Regions from separate parts of the Homo sapiens genome. Here region 1 is linked to region 2. The links are contacts of gene promoters, found by promoter capture Hi-C in blood cells and fetal thymus (Javierre and others, 2016). All regions are on one chromosome and are shown on one strand. Each heading gives the region's core, a stretch centred on a gene start or on the middle of the fragment in contact. The rest is flanking DNA. Distances are from core to core; before and after follow the strand shown. Region 1 overlaps SMYD4 (SET and MYND domain containing 4). Region 2 holds the start of SERPINF2 (serpin family F member 2).

Evidence for each region. The method cuts DNA at HindIII sites, captures the fragments that hold promoters and counts their contacts. A CHiCAGO score of 5 or more calls a contact.
Region 1: a contact is called between a fragment that was not itself captured here and the fragment with the promoter of SERPINF2 in region 2, in 3 of 17 cell types (M0 macrophages, M1 macrophages and M2 macrophages). The highest score is 7.1, in M0 macrophages.

What each region holds. Positions count from the first base shown.
Region 1 is chr17:1,781,001-1,787,269 of GRCh38, forward strand. SMYD4 (SET and MYND domain containing 4) reads right to left here. Exons shown (of 11, transcript NM_052928.3): 7 at 5,810-5,973; 8 at 3,326-3,461; 9 at 2,360-2,476; 10 at 2,035-2,158; 11 at 1-439. The coding sequence ends at 286. Among named protein-coding and RNA genes, the nearest start is that of SERPINF1, 22 kb to the left of the region's middle. RefSeq lists an enhancer at 2,855-3,149. The HindIII fragment of the contact is 1,609 bases long and covers 1,737-3,345 here.
Region 2 is chr17:1,738,422-1,744,278 of GRCh38, forward strand. SERPINF2 (serpin family F member 2) reads left to right here and starts at 4,450. Exons shown (of 10, transcript NM_000934.4): 1 at 4,450-4,487. It overlaps WDR81 (WD repeat domain 81), which reads left to right. Exons shown (of 10, transcript NM_001163809.2): 10 at 1-164. The HindIII fragment of the contact is 21,208 bases long and covers 1-5,857 here.

The DNA of each region.
Region 1 (6,269 bases), core at 1,291-3,790, 41 kb after region 2:
CCTCCGCCTCCTGGGTTCAAGAGATTCTCCTGCCTCAGCCTCCCAAGTAGCTGGGATTACAGGTGCCCACCACCACGCCTGGCTAGTTTTTTGTATTTTTAGTAAAGATGGGGTTTCACCATGTTGGCCAGGCTGGTCTTGAACTCCTGACATCAGGTGATCCGCCCACCTTAGCCTCCCAAAGTGCTGGGATTACAGGCGTGAGCCACCATACCTGGCCAGCAAAACCTCTTTAACTTGTGTTCCATGGGCTCCTTTTCTGTGGGTCAAAATCCTCCTGGAACCCTACAATGCAGGCCCTACAGGGGTGGGTGGTAAGTCCAACAAACAGGATTTCATCTTCTGGAGCTCCTGGATTTCATCGTCCCATGGGCCACAGTGCAGCGACAGAACCTCCTCAGCTTTCTGTATTGTGCTCAGGGCTTCGGGTACTGCAAACCTGAGCCAAGGGAGGTAAGAGGAGTTAGTTCACTGATTTGTGAGGCAAATGTTAATTGAGGGCCTACTCACACACCGTGAAGAATGTAAGATCATTTCTGTCATCAAGGATCCTACAATCTAGAACAGTAAGTAAGACACTGTCACAAACACGCTGCAAAACAAAAGTGTGAGAAAACAGTTATAAAAGATAGTATAGACGCCAGGATCCTGAGAACACGAGGCAAATCTCAAAGCTTTTTTTTTTTTTTTTGAGACAAGAGTTTCACTCTTGTCGCCCAGGTATTTGTGCGACCTCGGCTCACTGCAACCTCCGCCTCCCGGGTTCAAGTGATTCTCCTGCCTCAACCTCCTGGGCAGCTGGATTACAGGCGTGAGCTACCACACCCGGCCTCAAAGTTTTCATCTGGTATTTACCACAGGTTTACATAGCAGTTTTCATTTTAGGGTGACCATCTTAGGGCTGACCTCTGACCTAACTCTGCAGCCCTTTTCTCTCTCTCTGACCAAACAGAATGTCTCTGTGTCTTGGGTACCAGGCCCACTCAGCACAGCCTTAGGTTGAAGCTTTAAGCACTTTCTCATAGCCACATACACCAAGGGCAGCTTTACCAGGGTTGGAGGTTCCACCCGGAAATCCTGAAATTGGGCCCTAAATGGTCTCAGTAGCAAAAGTGGATTTGGCATCAGCTCATCAGCGTGCTGTTCTTTCCTTTTAACCTTCAAAGTAGAACAGGGGATTTAAAACAAAAAACAAACAACAGCAGCAAAAAAGCAGGGTTTCTCGACCCTGACACTATTGACACTGTTGCTGGCTCCTTCTTTGCTGGGGTTGGTGGGGGGGGCACTGTCTTGTACCCGGGAGGATGCTTAGCAGCACCTCTGGCCTCTTTCGAATAGATGCCAGCAGCACCCCCCTTCCAAGTCATGACAATCCAAAATGTCTCCAGAGATCGCTTGAGCCCAGGAGTTGCAGGAAGCAGTGAGCTGTGACCGAGCCACTGTACTCCAGCCTGGGCAAGACAGCAAGACCCCTTCTCAAAAAAAAAAAAAAAAAAGTCTCCAGGCAATGCCACATGTTGTCTGGGGGTAAAATCAGCCCTGGTTCAAGCAAACGCTTTAAAAGGAAGAGGATGCAGAGTAGGGAGAAGGCAGAGAGCCTGGAGCTGAGAGTGCTGGGAATGAGACAGCCAAAGGGGCTGTGACGAACCAGAGAACAACCAGAAGGAGAGCTATACTGGAGGGTGGGTGGGGCTGCCTGGCCAAGTTCTCTCTGGGAAACTCACTTGAGATCTAAAAGCTTTCCCCATATCTCCCAGGAGGAAATTCTTTTTTTTTTTTTTTTTGAGATGGAGTCTCGCTCTGTCGCCCAGGCTACAGTGCAGTGGCGCGATCTTGGCTCACTGCAAGCTCCGCCTCCCAGGAGGAAATTCTAAAGCGTTATGTTTGTTAGCAAAACAGAAGGCAAAGATCTCTCCTAAAGAGGAAATAAAGAAGTTTCAACATGCTTTTAAAAACACCATAGAAAAAAAGTAATACCCAGAAGAGCCTAGGAAAGGAACAGTGTGTGCCCTGTGAAGTGGGAAAGGGACTCACCCGTTGAAAAAGATCTGGGCCAATTTGAAGAGCTCATGGCCCATTTCAACACTGGACGGCCCGTGGCGAACCTCCACCACGTAGAGACTCCTCTGTAGATGGGTGGCTGACTTTTGCCAGTCTCCTGTGAGAAGAGAAAAATCTTGTTCCAGAAAAGAACCACTGTCAACTGTGGATGCATATTTTCAGGGGGAGGAAATGGAACGAGAGGGGGAGCACCCTCAGTTTACAGAGCGGGGGGTAACCAGGCAGACAAGGCCGGGGCCACGGCGAAGTGCCCACAGCAGACTGTTCCCGACGCAGAACGTGAAGGCTCATGCTGTACCTAAGGCAGCACAGGCCCGGGCCAGGCCATCCGCGATCTCTCCCACCACGGCGTGCTCTGCCCACAGGAAGCTCTCGGCGTCACGCTGGCACCCCGACAGCCGCTGAACAGCTCGCTCTGTCAATGCAGAGGAAAGACGTCTCACTATAGACAGAAGCCCAGTCCTAGGAATGAGAATCCAGGTCTCAAATCCTCTGAATCAGCTGGGCTGAATGTGGAAATTCCCCCTGGCCTCCCTGGGTTGTCACCAACGCACAATGTCTGTTCCAATAAAGCTGCTGTTTTCTTCTGTTTTCTCTGTCAGTGGAGAAAGGCGCTAGGGGAGGCCTCCCCACATTTACACTGTATTTTCAACATTAACTTCCCAACTCGACCAACTCTACCTTTCACGTACGGCCATGATTTCTCTTGACCCTGAAATCTAAGCTAAAGGTCAACTTTCATAAAGCAGGGTAAATAAAAATCCCATGATGTCAAGCTCTAAGGCAGGGTTTTCAAGGGCAATGGGGAGCTCCGCAAGTCTCAGACAAAAGCAAGACACTCCTATCAGCTGGGCTCACGCCCCACTGCTCTCTAGCAGAGACTAGCTCTGAGGAGGGAAGAACCGCCCTTCTAGGAAGTTACATCACTAGGCCCTGGAATTAAAATAAATGACACTCAACTTCTGGAACTGCACACAGCTCACGGATGTCAGCGATGACCCGTTAGTTGGCAGGGGTACTTCAACTTAGCAATCAGATGCAGAAGAAAACAACAGCTGAAATCACCTGGCCCCTTTTCAAGGGCCCCACAGTAACAAAGCTGGTCAGGGTTTGGACTCACTGGCCTATATAGCCATCTTGTGGCTGGCATGGGGATAATTACATCCAATTCTCCCATCAGTACTGAGTATCCCTGAGTCCAAAACGGTATCAGAACAAATAAAAGGGAAGGGGCTGGAGGACCAAAGCAGGGAGCCAGTCTCACCTAGTTCACCATCTCTGAGAAGCTTCTGGGCCACTCTGACCTGCTGCTGTAGGTCCTGTAACCGAGAGACCAGGTGGTCCCTGCTGACGGCGGATTCTGCACAAGATCTGCTGCCACAGCGCAGCACGTCATCTCCCTGTGGAAGTCAGTTTTCTCTTTATTCCAATGCCAGGGTCAGTTATCAACACCGCCTGTGCTTACATTACAGGACTGCTCCATAGTTTCTTACCTCATGGGGGAAAGAGACTCCTGTAACAATACATCGTGACGAAAGTCTGAGCGAATTTTGTTTGATGGCGGCAATGGCGGCAATTCTAATGAAGTGTATCAGCAGTAGCTGATCCCACCTGAGATTTCATTTTTGGAACAGAACTGGTACAGTGCACAATTTCTTTCCACTTCTATAGCCCCTCTTGTCGCTTTTTGGGGCCAGGACTTTAGATGACAAACATTTCTTTTTTTTGAGATGGAGTCTCGCTCGGTCTCCAGGCTGGAGTGCAGTGGTGCGATCTCGGCTCACTCCAAGCTCCGCCTCCCGGGTTCACGCCATTCTCCTGCCTCAGTCTCCCGAGTAGCTGGGACTACAGGTGCCCACCACCAAGCCCGGCTAAATTTTTGTGTGTGTTATTTATTTTTTTTTTTTAGTAGAGACGGGGTTTCACCGTGTAAGCCAGGATGGTCTCGATTTTCTGACCTCATGATCCGCTCGCCTCAGCCTCCCAAAGTGCTGGGATTACAGGCGTGAGCCACCGTGCCCGGCCTTGATGACAAACATTTCTAGTAGTTATGAAAAAGTCCTCAGAAAACCAATAGAAGGCCAGGTGCGGTGGCTCACGCCTGTAATCCCAGCACTTTGGGAGGGCGAGGCGGGTGGATCCATGAGGTCAGGAGATCGAGACCATCCTGGCTAACACGGTGAAACCCCGTCTCTACTAAAAATACAAAAAATTAGCCGGGCATGGTGGTGGCGGGCGCCTGTAGTCTCACCTACTCGGGAGGCTGAGGCAGGAGAATGGCGTGAACCCGGGAGGTGGAGCTTGCAGTGAGCCGAGATTGCACCACTGCACTCCAGCCTGGGTGACATGAGAGAGACTCTGTCTCACAAAAGAAAAAGAAAAAAAAAAAAAAAAGAAAACCAATAGAAAGGCTGGGCGTGGTGGCTCACGCCTGTAATCCCAGCGCTTTGGGTGGTCGAGGCAGGTAGGTCGCTTGAGGCCAGGAGATCGAGACCAGCCTGGCCAACATGGAGAACATGGCCAACTCGTCTCTACTAAAAATACAAAGATTAGCTGGGCATGGTGGTGCATGCCTGTAATCCCAGCTACTGGGGAGGCTGAGGCAGGAGAATTGCTTGAGTCTGGGAGGTTGAGGCTGTGGTAAGCAGAGATCGTGCCACTGCACTCACTTCAGCCTGGATGACAGGGCAAGACCCCATCTCAAAAAAAAAAAAGAAAAAAAAAAAAACTAATAGAAAAAGGTGCTAGGTGCGATCGTCCTACATTTGACCTTGGGTCTCCAAGTTTAGCTTTCTAACACAACCGGCTCTGCCTTTCACTCATGACTCCCCTAAGAAGAATACGGCACTTGTGGCAGAGGGGAAACCTCCGAGGTGGACATCTGCTGTGTTTCAAAGGCCGATATCTATTTTCTCATTTGGCAACAGCAACCCAACCCAGTTTCTCATAAGGATCCCTCTCACCCTCAGTCCCATGGCCCTTGCCCTACAGCTGAGGGTGTGGCATGTGGCTCACATATGGCTCCTTCCTCTGGCCCAAATGGCTGGAGGAAAACTATGTCTAATTTTCCTCCAGCCACAGTTCTCAGGTCAATGAAACACAGTAACATCTCTGCCCAGGCTGCTGTTTGAGTGGCATGTGCTCTTATCCTCCTTGGCAGGAAATCCGCAGGCTGGGCTGCTGGCAGCCATCCTGCATCGTAAGAGGGAAGTCTATCTGAGGATGGGCTAACACAGAGAAAATGAAGCTGAGAGGGGTGGACAGAAAGCCCCTGGATCAAGCTGTATCTTAAGCAGCCTTATCCTGGAATTTTTCTCATAACATTTTTTTTGGTAGAGACAGGGTCTTGCTATGTTGCCCAGGCTGGTCTTGAACCCCTGGCCTCCAAGTGATCTGTCCACCTCAGCCTCCCAAAGTGCTGGGATAATAGGCATGTGTCACTGTGCCCAGCCTATCCTGGGACTTTTCAATGACTGACTTCAGCAAATAAATTCCCAGTCTCCCCCAGATCCCAAACCAGTTCAGATGGGATCTTCTGTCCTTTATAAAGGAAACATTACTAAATTGAACCTTTCCCTGTGGTTTCTCTGGAGGGGAACTAGTGTATGGGGATGACTGGCTAAAATGGAGGTGATATTACTGGTCTCAGCACTTACAAGTCCCTGATGGCTTCCTCCTAAACACTGATCACCCTTGGGGTGGAAAACTGACCTCCAGGAAAAGTGGAGGAGACAGAAGAGAGAATTACCTGCATGGGCGCTCCGCAACTGTTGCAACAGAATGCTTCCCACCTGGGCCCTGCAGCCATCCTGTGTGCCTCAGTTTGACAAGCTGGACAGGCGCAGTCAAAGAAATACTGAGACCTCAGCTTCTGCTGCCTTTCGGCAACCCCCATCCGGCTCTTGTGAGGCCCTGGAGGGAGATCACCGTCAGCCAATATTGAAAGCAAGAGAGAGTCAAACACTACGTAAAAACCTTCAGCTTAGCAGAGGGTCTGGACAATTACCTATCATGTGACAGCTAACCTTTACCCAAATATTTGTGGAACTGGATACTAAAATAAGCTTCCAAGTTGCTGAGACAGGAAGAAAGAGAAGCCAAGAAGTTGTTCCTAGCCCATTTTCAGAATAGGAAGTTTATAGTGATTAAACAGCGAGACATAGTTTAGCCGCAATAGGGCCCTAGCACGAAGGCCATTCCTTCCATCC
Region 2 (5,857 bases), core at 3,200-5,699:
TGAGAAGAATCATCTCTGCACCTCGGGTCTCTGCCAGAGGAAGACTTAAGCATCCCTGCGACCTCACATTCTAGACAGAGATGAGGTCCAGGGGTTGGCCCCTGCTGCCTTCTCACAATTTGCAATAGATGTAAATAGGACCAATAAATCCTTTGGAAGAGCCATGGGGTGAACTGAGGCTTGTCTTTTTTTTTTTTTTCAATAGAGATGGAGTCTGACTATGTTGCCCAAGCTGGTCTCCAACTCCTGGGCTCAAGCGATCCTCCTGCCTCGGCCTCCCAAAGTGTTGGGATTACAGGCATGAGCCACCACGCCCAGCCTGAGGCTTATCTTGCTGGTGGTGTCAGGGTGGGGAAAGTCGAGACCCAGCAGTTTCCAGGACAGTGAGGGTGGGAAGGGGCCTGATGGAGGGAGTGAGGAGCAGGACAGTGAGGGTAGGAGGCGGCCTGATGCAGGGAGTGAGGCGCAGGACAGTGAGGGTGGGAAGGAGCCTGATGCAGGGAGTGAGGCGCAGGACAGTGAGGGTGGGAAGGAGCCTGATGCAGGGAGTGAGGCGCAGGACAGTGAGGGTGGGAAGGAGCCTGATGCAGGGAGTGAGGCGCAGGACAGTGAGGGTGGGAAGGAGCCTGATGCAGGGAGTGAGGCGCAGGACAGTGAGGGTGGGAAGGAGCCTGATGCAGGGAGTGAGGCGCAGGACAGTGAGGGTGGGAAGGAGCCTGATGCAGGGAGTGAGGCGCAGGACAGTGAGGGTGGGAAGGAGCCTGATGCAGGGAGTGAGGAGCCGGACAGTGAGGGTGGGAGGCGGCCTGATGCAGGGAGTGAGGCGCAGGACAGTGAGGGTGGGAAGGAGCCTGATGCAGGGAGTGAGGCGCAGGACAGTGAGGGTGGGAAGGAGCCTGATGCAGGGAGTGAGGAGCAGGACAGTGAGGGTGGGAAGGAGCCTGATGCAGGGAGTGAGGAGCCGGACAGTGAGGGTGGGAAGGAGCCTGATGCAGGGAGTGAGGAGCAGGACAGTGAGGGTGGGAAGTGGCCTGATGCAGGGAGTGAGGAGCAGGTGTGAGGGCGGGAAGCGGCCTGATGCAGGGAGTGAGGCGCAGGACAGTGAGGGTGGGAAGGAGCCTGATGCAGGGAGTGAGGCGCAGGACAGTGAGGGTGGGAAGGAGCCTGATGCAGGGAGTGAGGCGCAGGACAGTGAGGGTGGGAAGGAGCCTGATGCAGGGAGTGAGGAGCAGGACAGTGAGGGTGGGAAGTGGCCTGATGCAGGGAGTGAGGCGCAGGACAGTGAGGGTGGGAGGCGGCCTGATGCAGGGAGTGAGGCGCAGGACAGTGAGGGTGGGAAGGAGCCTGATGCAGGGAGTGAGGCGCAGGACAGTGAGGGTGGGAAGGGGCCTGATGCAGGGAGTGAGGCGCAGGACAGTGAGGGTGGGAAGGAGCCTGATGCAGGGAGTGAGGAGCCGGACAGTGAGGGTGGGAAGGAGCCTGATGCAGGGAGTGAGGAGCAGGACAGTGAGGGTGGGAGGTGGCCTGATGCAGGGAGTGAGGAGCCGGACAGTGAGGGTGGGAAGGAGCCTGATGCAGGGAGTGAGGCGCAGGACAGTGAGGGTGGGAGGCGGCCTGATGCAGGGAGTGAGGCGCAGGACAGTGAGGGTGGGAAGGAGCCTGATGCAGGGAGTGAGGAGCAGGACAGTGAGGGTGGGAGGCGGCCTGATGCAGGGAGTGAGGCGCAGGACAGTGAGGGTGGGAAGGAGCCTGATGCAGGGAGTGAGGCGCAGGACAGTGAGGGTGGGAAGGAGCCTGATGCAGGGAGTGAGGCACAGGACAGTGAGGGTGGGAAGTGGCCTGATGCAGGGAGTGAGGCGCAGGACAGTGAGGGTGGGAAGGAGCCTGATGCAGGGAGTGAGGAGCCGGACAGTGAGGGTGGGAAGGAGCCTGATGCAGGGAGTGAGGCGCAGGACAGTGAGGGTGGGAAGGGGCCTGATGCAGGGAGTGAGGCGCAGGACAGTGAGGGTGGGAAGGAGCCTGATGCAGGGAGTGAGGAGCAGGACAGTGAGGGTGGGAGGCGGCCTGATGCAGGGAGTGAGGAGCCGGACAGTGAGGGTGGGAAGGAGCCTGATGCAGGGAGTGAGGAGCCGGACAGTGAGGGTGGGAAGGAGCCTGATGCAGGGAGTGAGGCGCAGGACAGTGAGGGTGGGAGGCGGCCTGATGCAGGGAGTGAGGCGCAGGACAGTGAGGGTGGGAAGGAGCCTGATGCAGGGAGTGAGGAGCAGGACAGTCAGGGTGGGAGGCGGCCTGATGCAGGGAGTGAGGCGCAGGACAGTGAGGGTGGGAAGGAGCCTGATGCAGGGAGTGAGGCGCAGGACAGTGAGGGTGGGAAGGAGCCTGATGCAGGGAGTGAGGCGCAGGACAGTGAGGGTGGGAAGTGGCCTGATGCAGGGAGTGAGGCGCAGGACAGTGAGGGTGGGAAGTGGCCTGATGCAGGGAGTGAGGCGCAGGACAGTGAGGGTGGGAAGGGGCCTGATGCAGGGAGTGAGGCGCAGGACAGTGAGGGTGGGAAGGGGCCTGATGCAGGGAGTGAGGAGCCGGACAGTGAGGGTGGGAAGGAGCCTGATGCAGGGAGTGAGGCGCAGGACAGTGAGGGTGGGAAGGGGCCTGATGCAGGGAGTGAGGCGCAGGACAGTGAGGGTGGGAAGGGGCCTGATGCAGGGAGTGAGGAGCCGGACACTGAGGGTGGGAAGGAGCCTGATGCAGGGAGTGAGGCGCAGGACAGTGAGGGTGGGAAGGGGCCTGATGCAGGGAGTGAGGCGCAGGACAGTGAGGGTGGGAAGGGGCCTGATGCAGGGAGTGAGGAGCCGGACAGTGAGGGTGGGAAGGAGCCTGATGCAGGGAGTGAGGCGCAGGACAGTGAAGGTGGGAAGGGGCCTGATGCAGGGAGTGAGGCGCAAGACAGTGAGGGTGGGAAGGAGCCTGATGCAGGGAGTGAGGCGCAGGACAGTGAGGGTGGGAAGGAGCCTGATGCAGGGAGTGAGGAGCAGGACAGTGAAGGTGGGAAGGAGCCTGATGCAGGGAGTGAGGAGCCGGACAGTGAGGGTGGGAAGGAGCCTGATGCAGGGAGTGAGGAGCTGGACAGTGAGGATGGGAAGGAGCCTGATGCAGGGAGTGAGGAGCAGGACAGTGAGGGTGGGAAGTGGCCTGATGCAGGGAGTGAGGCGCAGGACAGTGAGGGTGGGAAGGAGCCTGATGCAGGGAGTGAGGAGCAGGACAGTGAGGGTGGGAGGCGGCCTGATGCAGGGAGTGAGGAGCCGGACAGTGAGGGTGGGAGGCGGCCTGATGCAGGGAGTGAGGAGCAGGACAGTGAGGGTGGGAAGTGGCCCGATGCAGGGAGTGAGGCGCAGGACAGTGAGGGTGGGAAGGAGCCTGATGCAGGGAGTGAGGAGCCGGACAGTGAGGGTGGGAAGGAGCCTGATGCAGGGAGTGAGGAGCCGGACAGTGAGGGTGGGAAGGAGCCTGATGCAGGGAGTGAGGAGCAGGTGTGAGGGCGGGAAGCGGCCTGATGCAGGGAGTGAGGAGCAGGACAGTGAGGGTGGGAAGGGGCCTGATACAGGGAGTGAGGAGCAGGACAGTGAGGGTGGGAAGGAGCCTGATGCAGGGAGTGAGGAGCCGGACAGTGAGGGTGGGAAGCAGCCTGATCTTTGCACGGGCTGCCAGGCTTCTGGTTCATACAGCCCCAGGTCAGTTTCCAGAACCCTCGCTCTTGGGTAGGGGAAAGAGACATTGCTCTGGAGTGGCAGGACGGTGGGAGAAGTTGAGTCCCTCTCATTTCTCCTCCCTCACCCCCTGCCTTCCATCCCAGTCTGAAGGCAGCCAACCTGATCCTGGGCTTGGAAGGTTGGGGGTGGGCTTCCTATCCTGGGCTCTCTGCATAGGCTCTTGTGGCTTCCCCTTTCCTCCCCTCAGGAGCGGGAGGCAGCTCTCTGGGAGAAGAAAGGACATTGGGAGTGAGAATCTGGATGTGCCTCAGCCCAGCTCTGTGTCCTTGGGCAGGTCACATGGCCTCTCTGAGCCTGGCTGAACCAGGGATAATCCACACCTCGTGGGGTCTCTGGAAGGCTTAACACAGTGCTAGGTTCCTGTGCTTTCTGGATCCGCCCTCTTGGCTAGCCAGATCCAGTCTCTTCAACTCTCTCCTCCTGAACTTTCTCTTTCCAGGCTCGGGGGGGGGGACCCAAATATAGGGGGTTCTGCGTGGCTGCCTCAGGGTTAGATGCCCTGGTGGGAAAGGGGCTTCTGGCTTCAAGATCAATGTTTAACTGGATGTGCAAGTCAATATTTACCAGAAGAGAAAGCAATCTGAACAGGGGTTGGCTGAGAGTAAAGGTCCTGGTGGGAGGGGAGGGGTGGGCTGGGCCAGCTGGAGCCTGGGCAGAGAGTGAGGAGCACCCAAGTGGGGCCAGAGGAACGTTGTGTGTGGCAGCAAGGAGCCCGCAGAGGTATGAGGGGAGGGGCTGCTCGGCCTGCTCCTTGGGTAGGAGAGGAGGAGGGAGCTGCCTCCCTGGCTGAGGGGTCTGGGATTTATTCAGGAGGCCTGTCACTCCCCAGCCTCTTCTGGGACTTGAAAAACTGGAGCCTGTTCTTGGCAAGAAGATTCTAATGCCCAGGTCGGAGTCGGGGCCCTGGCCAAGGGCTCTTGTGTGGGATGGGGGTGGGGCCGGGGGGACCAAAGGATCCTCCAGAAGGGTTGGCCCCAAGATGGGGGTGGGCTGGAGGTAGCTGAGACCTGCTCTGACTTATCCTCCTGAGACCAACACCTGCCCTTCCCAGAGCCAGCCTGGAGCAGAGGCCTGTGATGCTCCTAAGTGCAGAGGTGGCTCTGGCCAGAGTCATTCACTGGGCTCTGCTGCTGGGTCAAAAGGCAGCTCTCTGGCTGCCTTGCCACCCATGGTGAGACCTCAGGGCCTCACAGGTATGTCCAGCCTTGTGGGCAAGACCTGACCAGCCTGAGAAAGACGGGTTGGGGCCAGGCGTGGTGGCTCATGCCTGTCATCCCAGCACTTTGGGAGGCTGAGGCAGGTGGATCACCTGAGGTCAGGAGTTCGAGACCAGCCTGACCAACATGGAGAAACCCTGTCTCTACTAAAAATACAAAATTAGCCAGGCATGGTGGCACATGCCTGTAATCCCAGCTACTCGGGAGGCTGAGGCAGGAGAATCGCTTTAACCCAGGAGGTGGAGGTTGCAGTGAGCCGAGATCGTGCCATTGCACTCCAGCCTGCATGATAAGAATGAAACTCCATCTCAAAAAAAAAAAAAAAAAAAAAAAAGACAGGCTAAATGGATGCAGCAGGCTGGGTAGGAGCTCTGTGTTGGAGCTCTGCGGTGGAGGCTTCAGGGCAGGCTTCCCAGAAGAGGTGGCCTTGAGCCAAGCTGACCCCAGCCATCGGGGGAGTGCCAAGCATTGTACTCAGGGTTTACAAAGATGGTCTTATTTATTTTTTTGAGACAGAGTCTTGCTCTGTCGCCCAGGCTGGAGTGCAGTGGCGTGATCTCGGCTCACTGCAACCTCCGCCTCCCGGGTTCAAGCAGTTCTCTGCCTCAGCCTCCCGAGTAGCTGGGATTACAGGGGCCCACCACCACGCCTGGCTAATTTTGTATTTTCAGTAGAGATGGGGTTTTACCATGTTGGCCAGGCTGGTCTTGAACTCCCGACCTCAGGTGATCCACCTGCCCCTGGCCTCCCAAAGTGCTGGGATTACAGGCTTGAGCCACCGTGCCTGGCCACAAAGATGGTCTTTTGCCGGGTGCAGTGGCTCATGCCTGTAATCCCAGTACTTTGGGAGGCCGAGGCAGGAGGATCACCTGA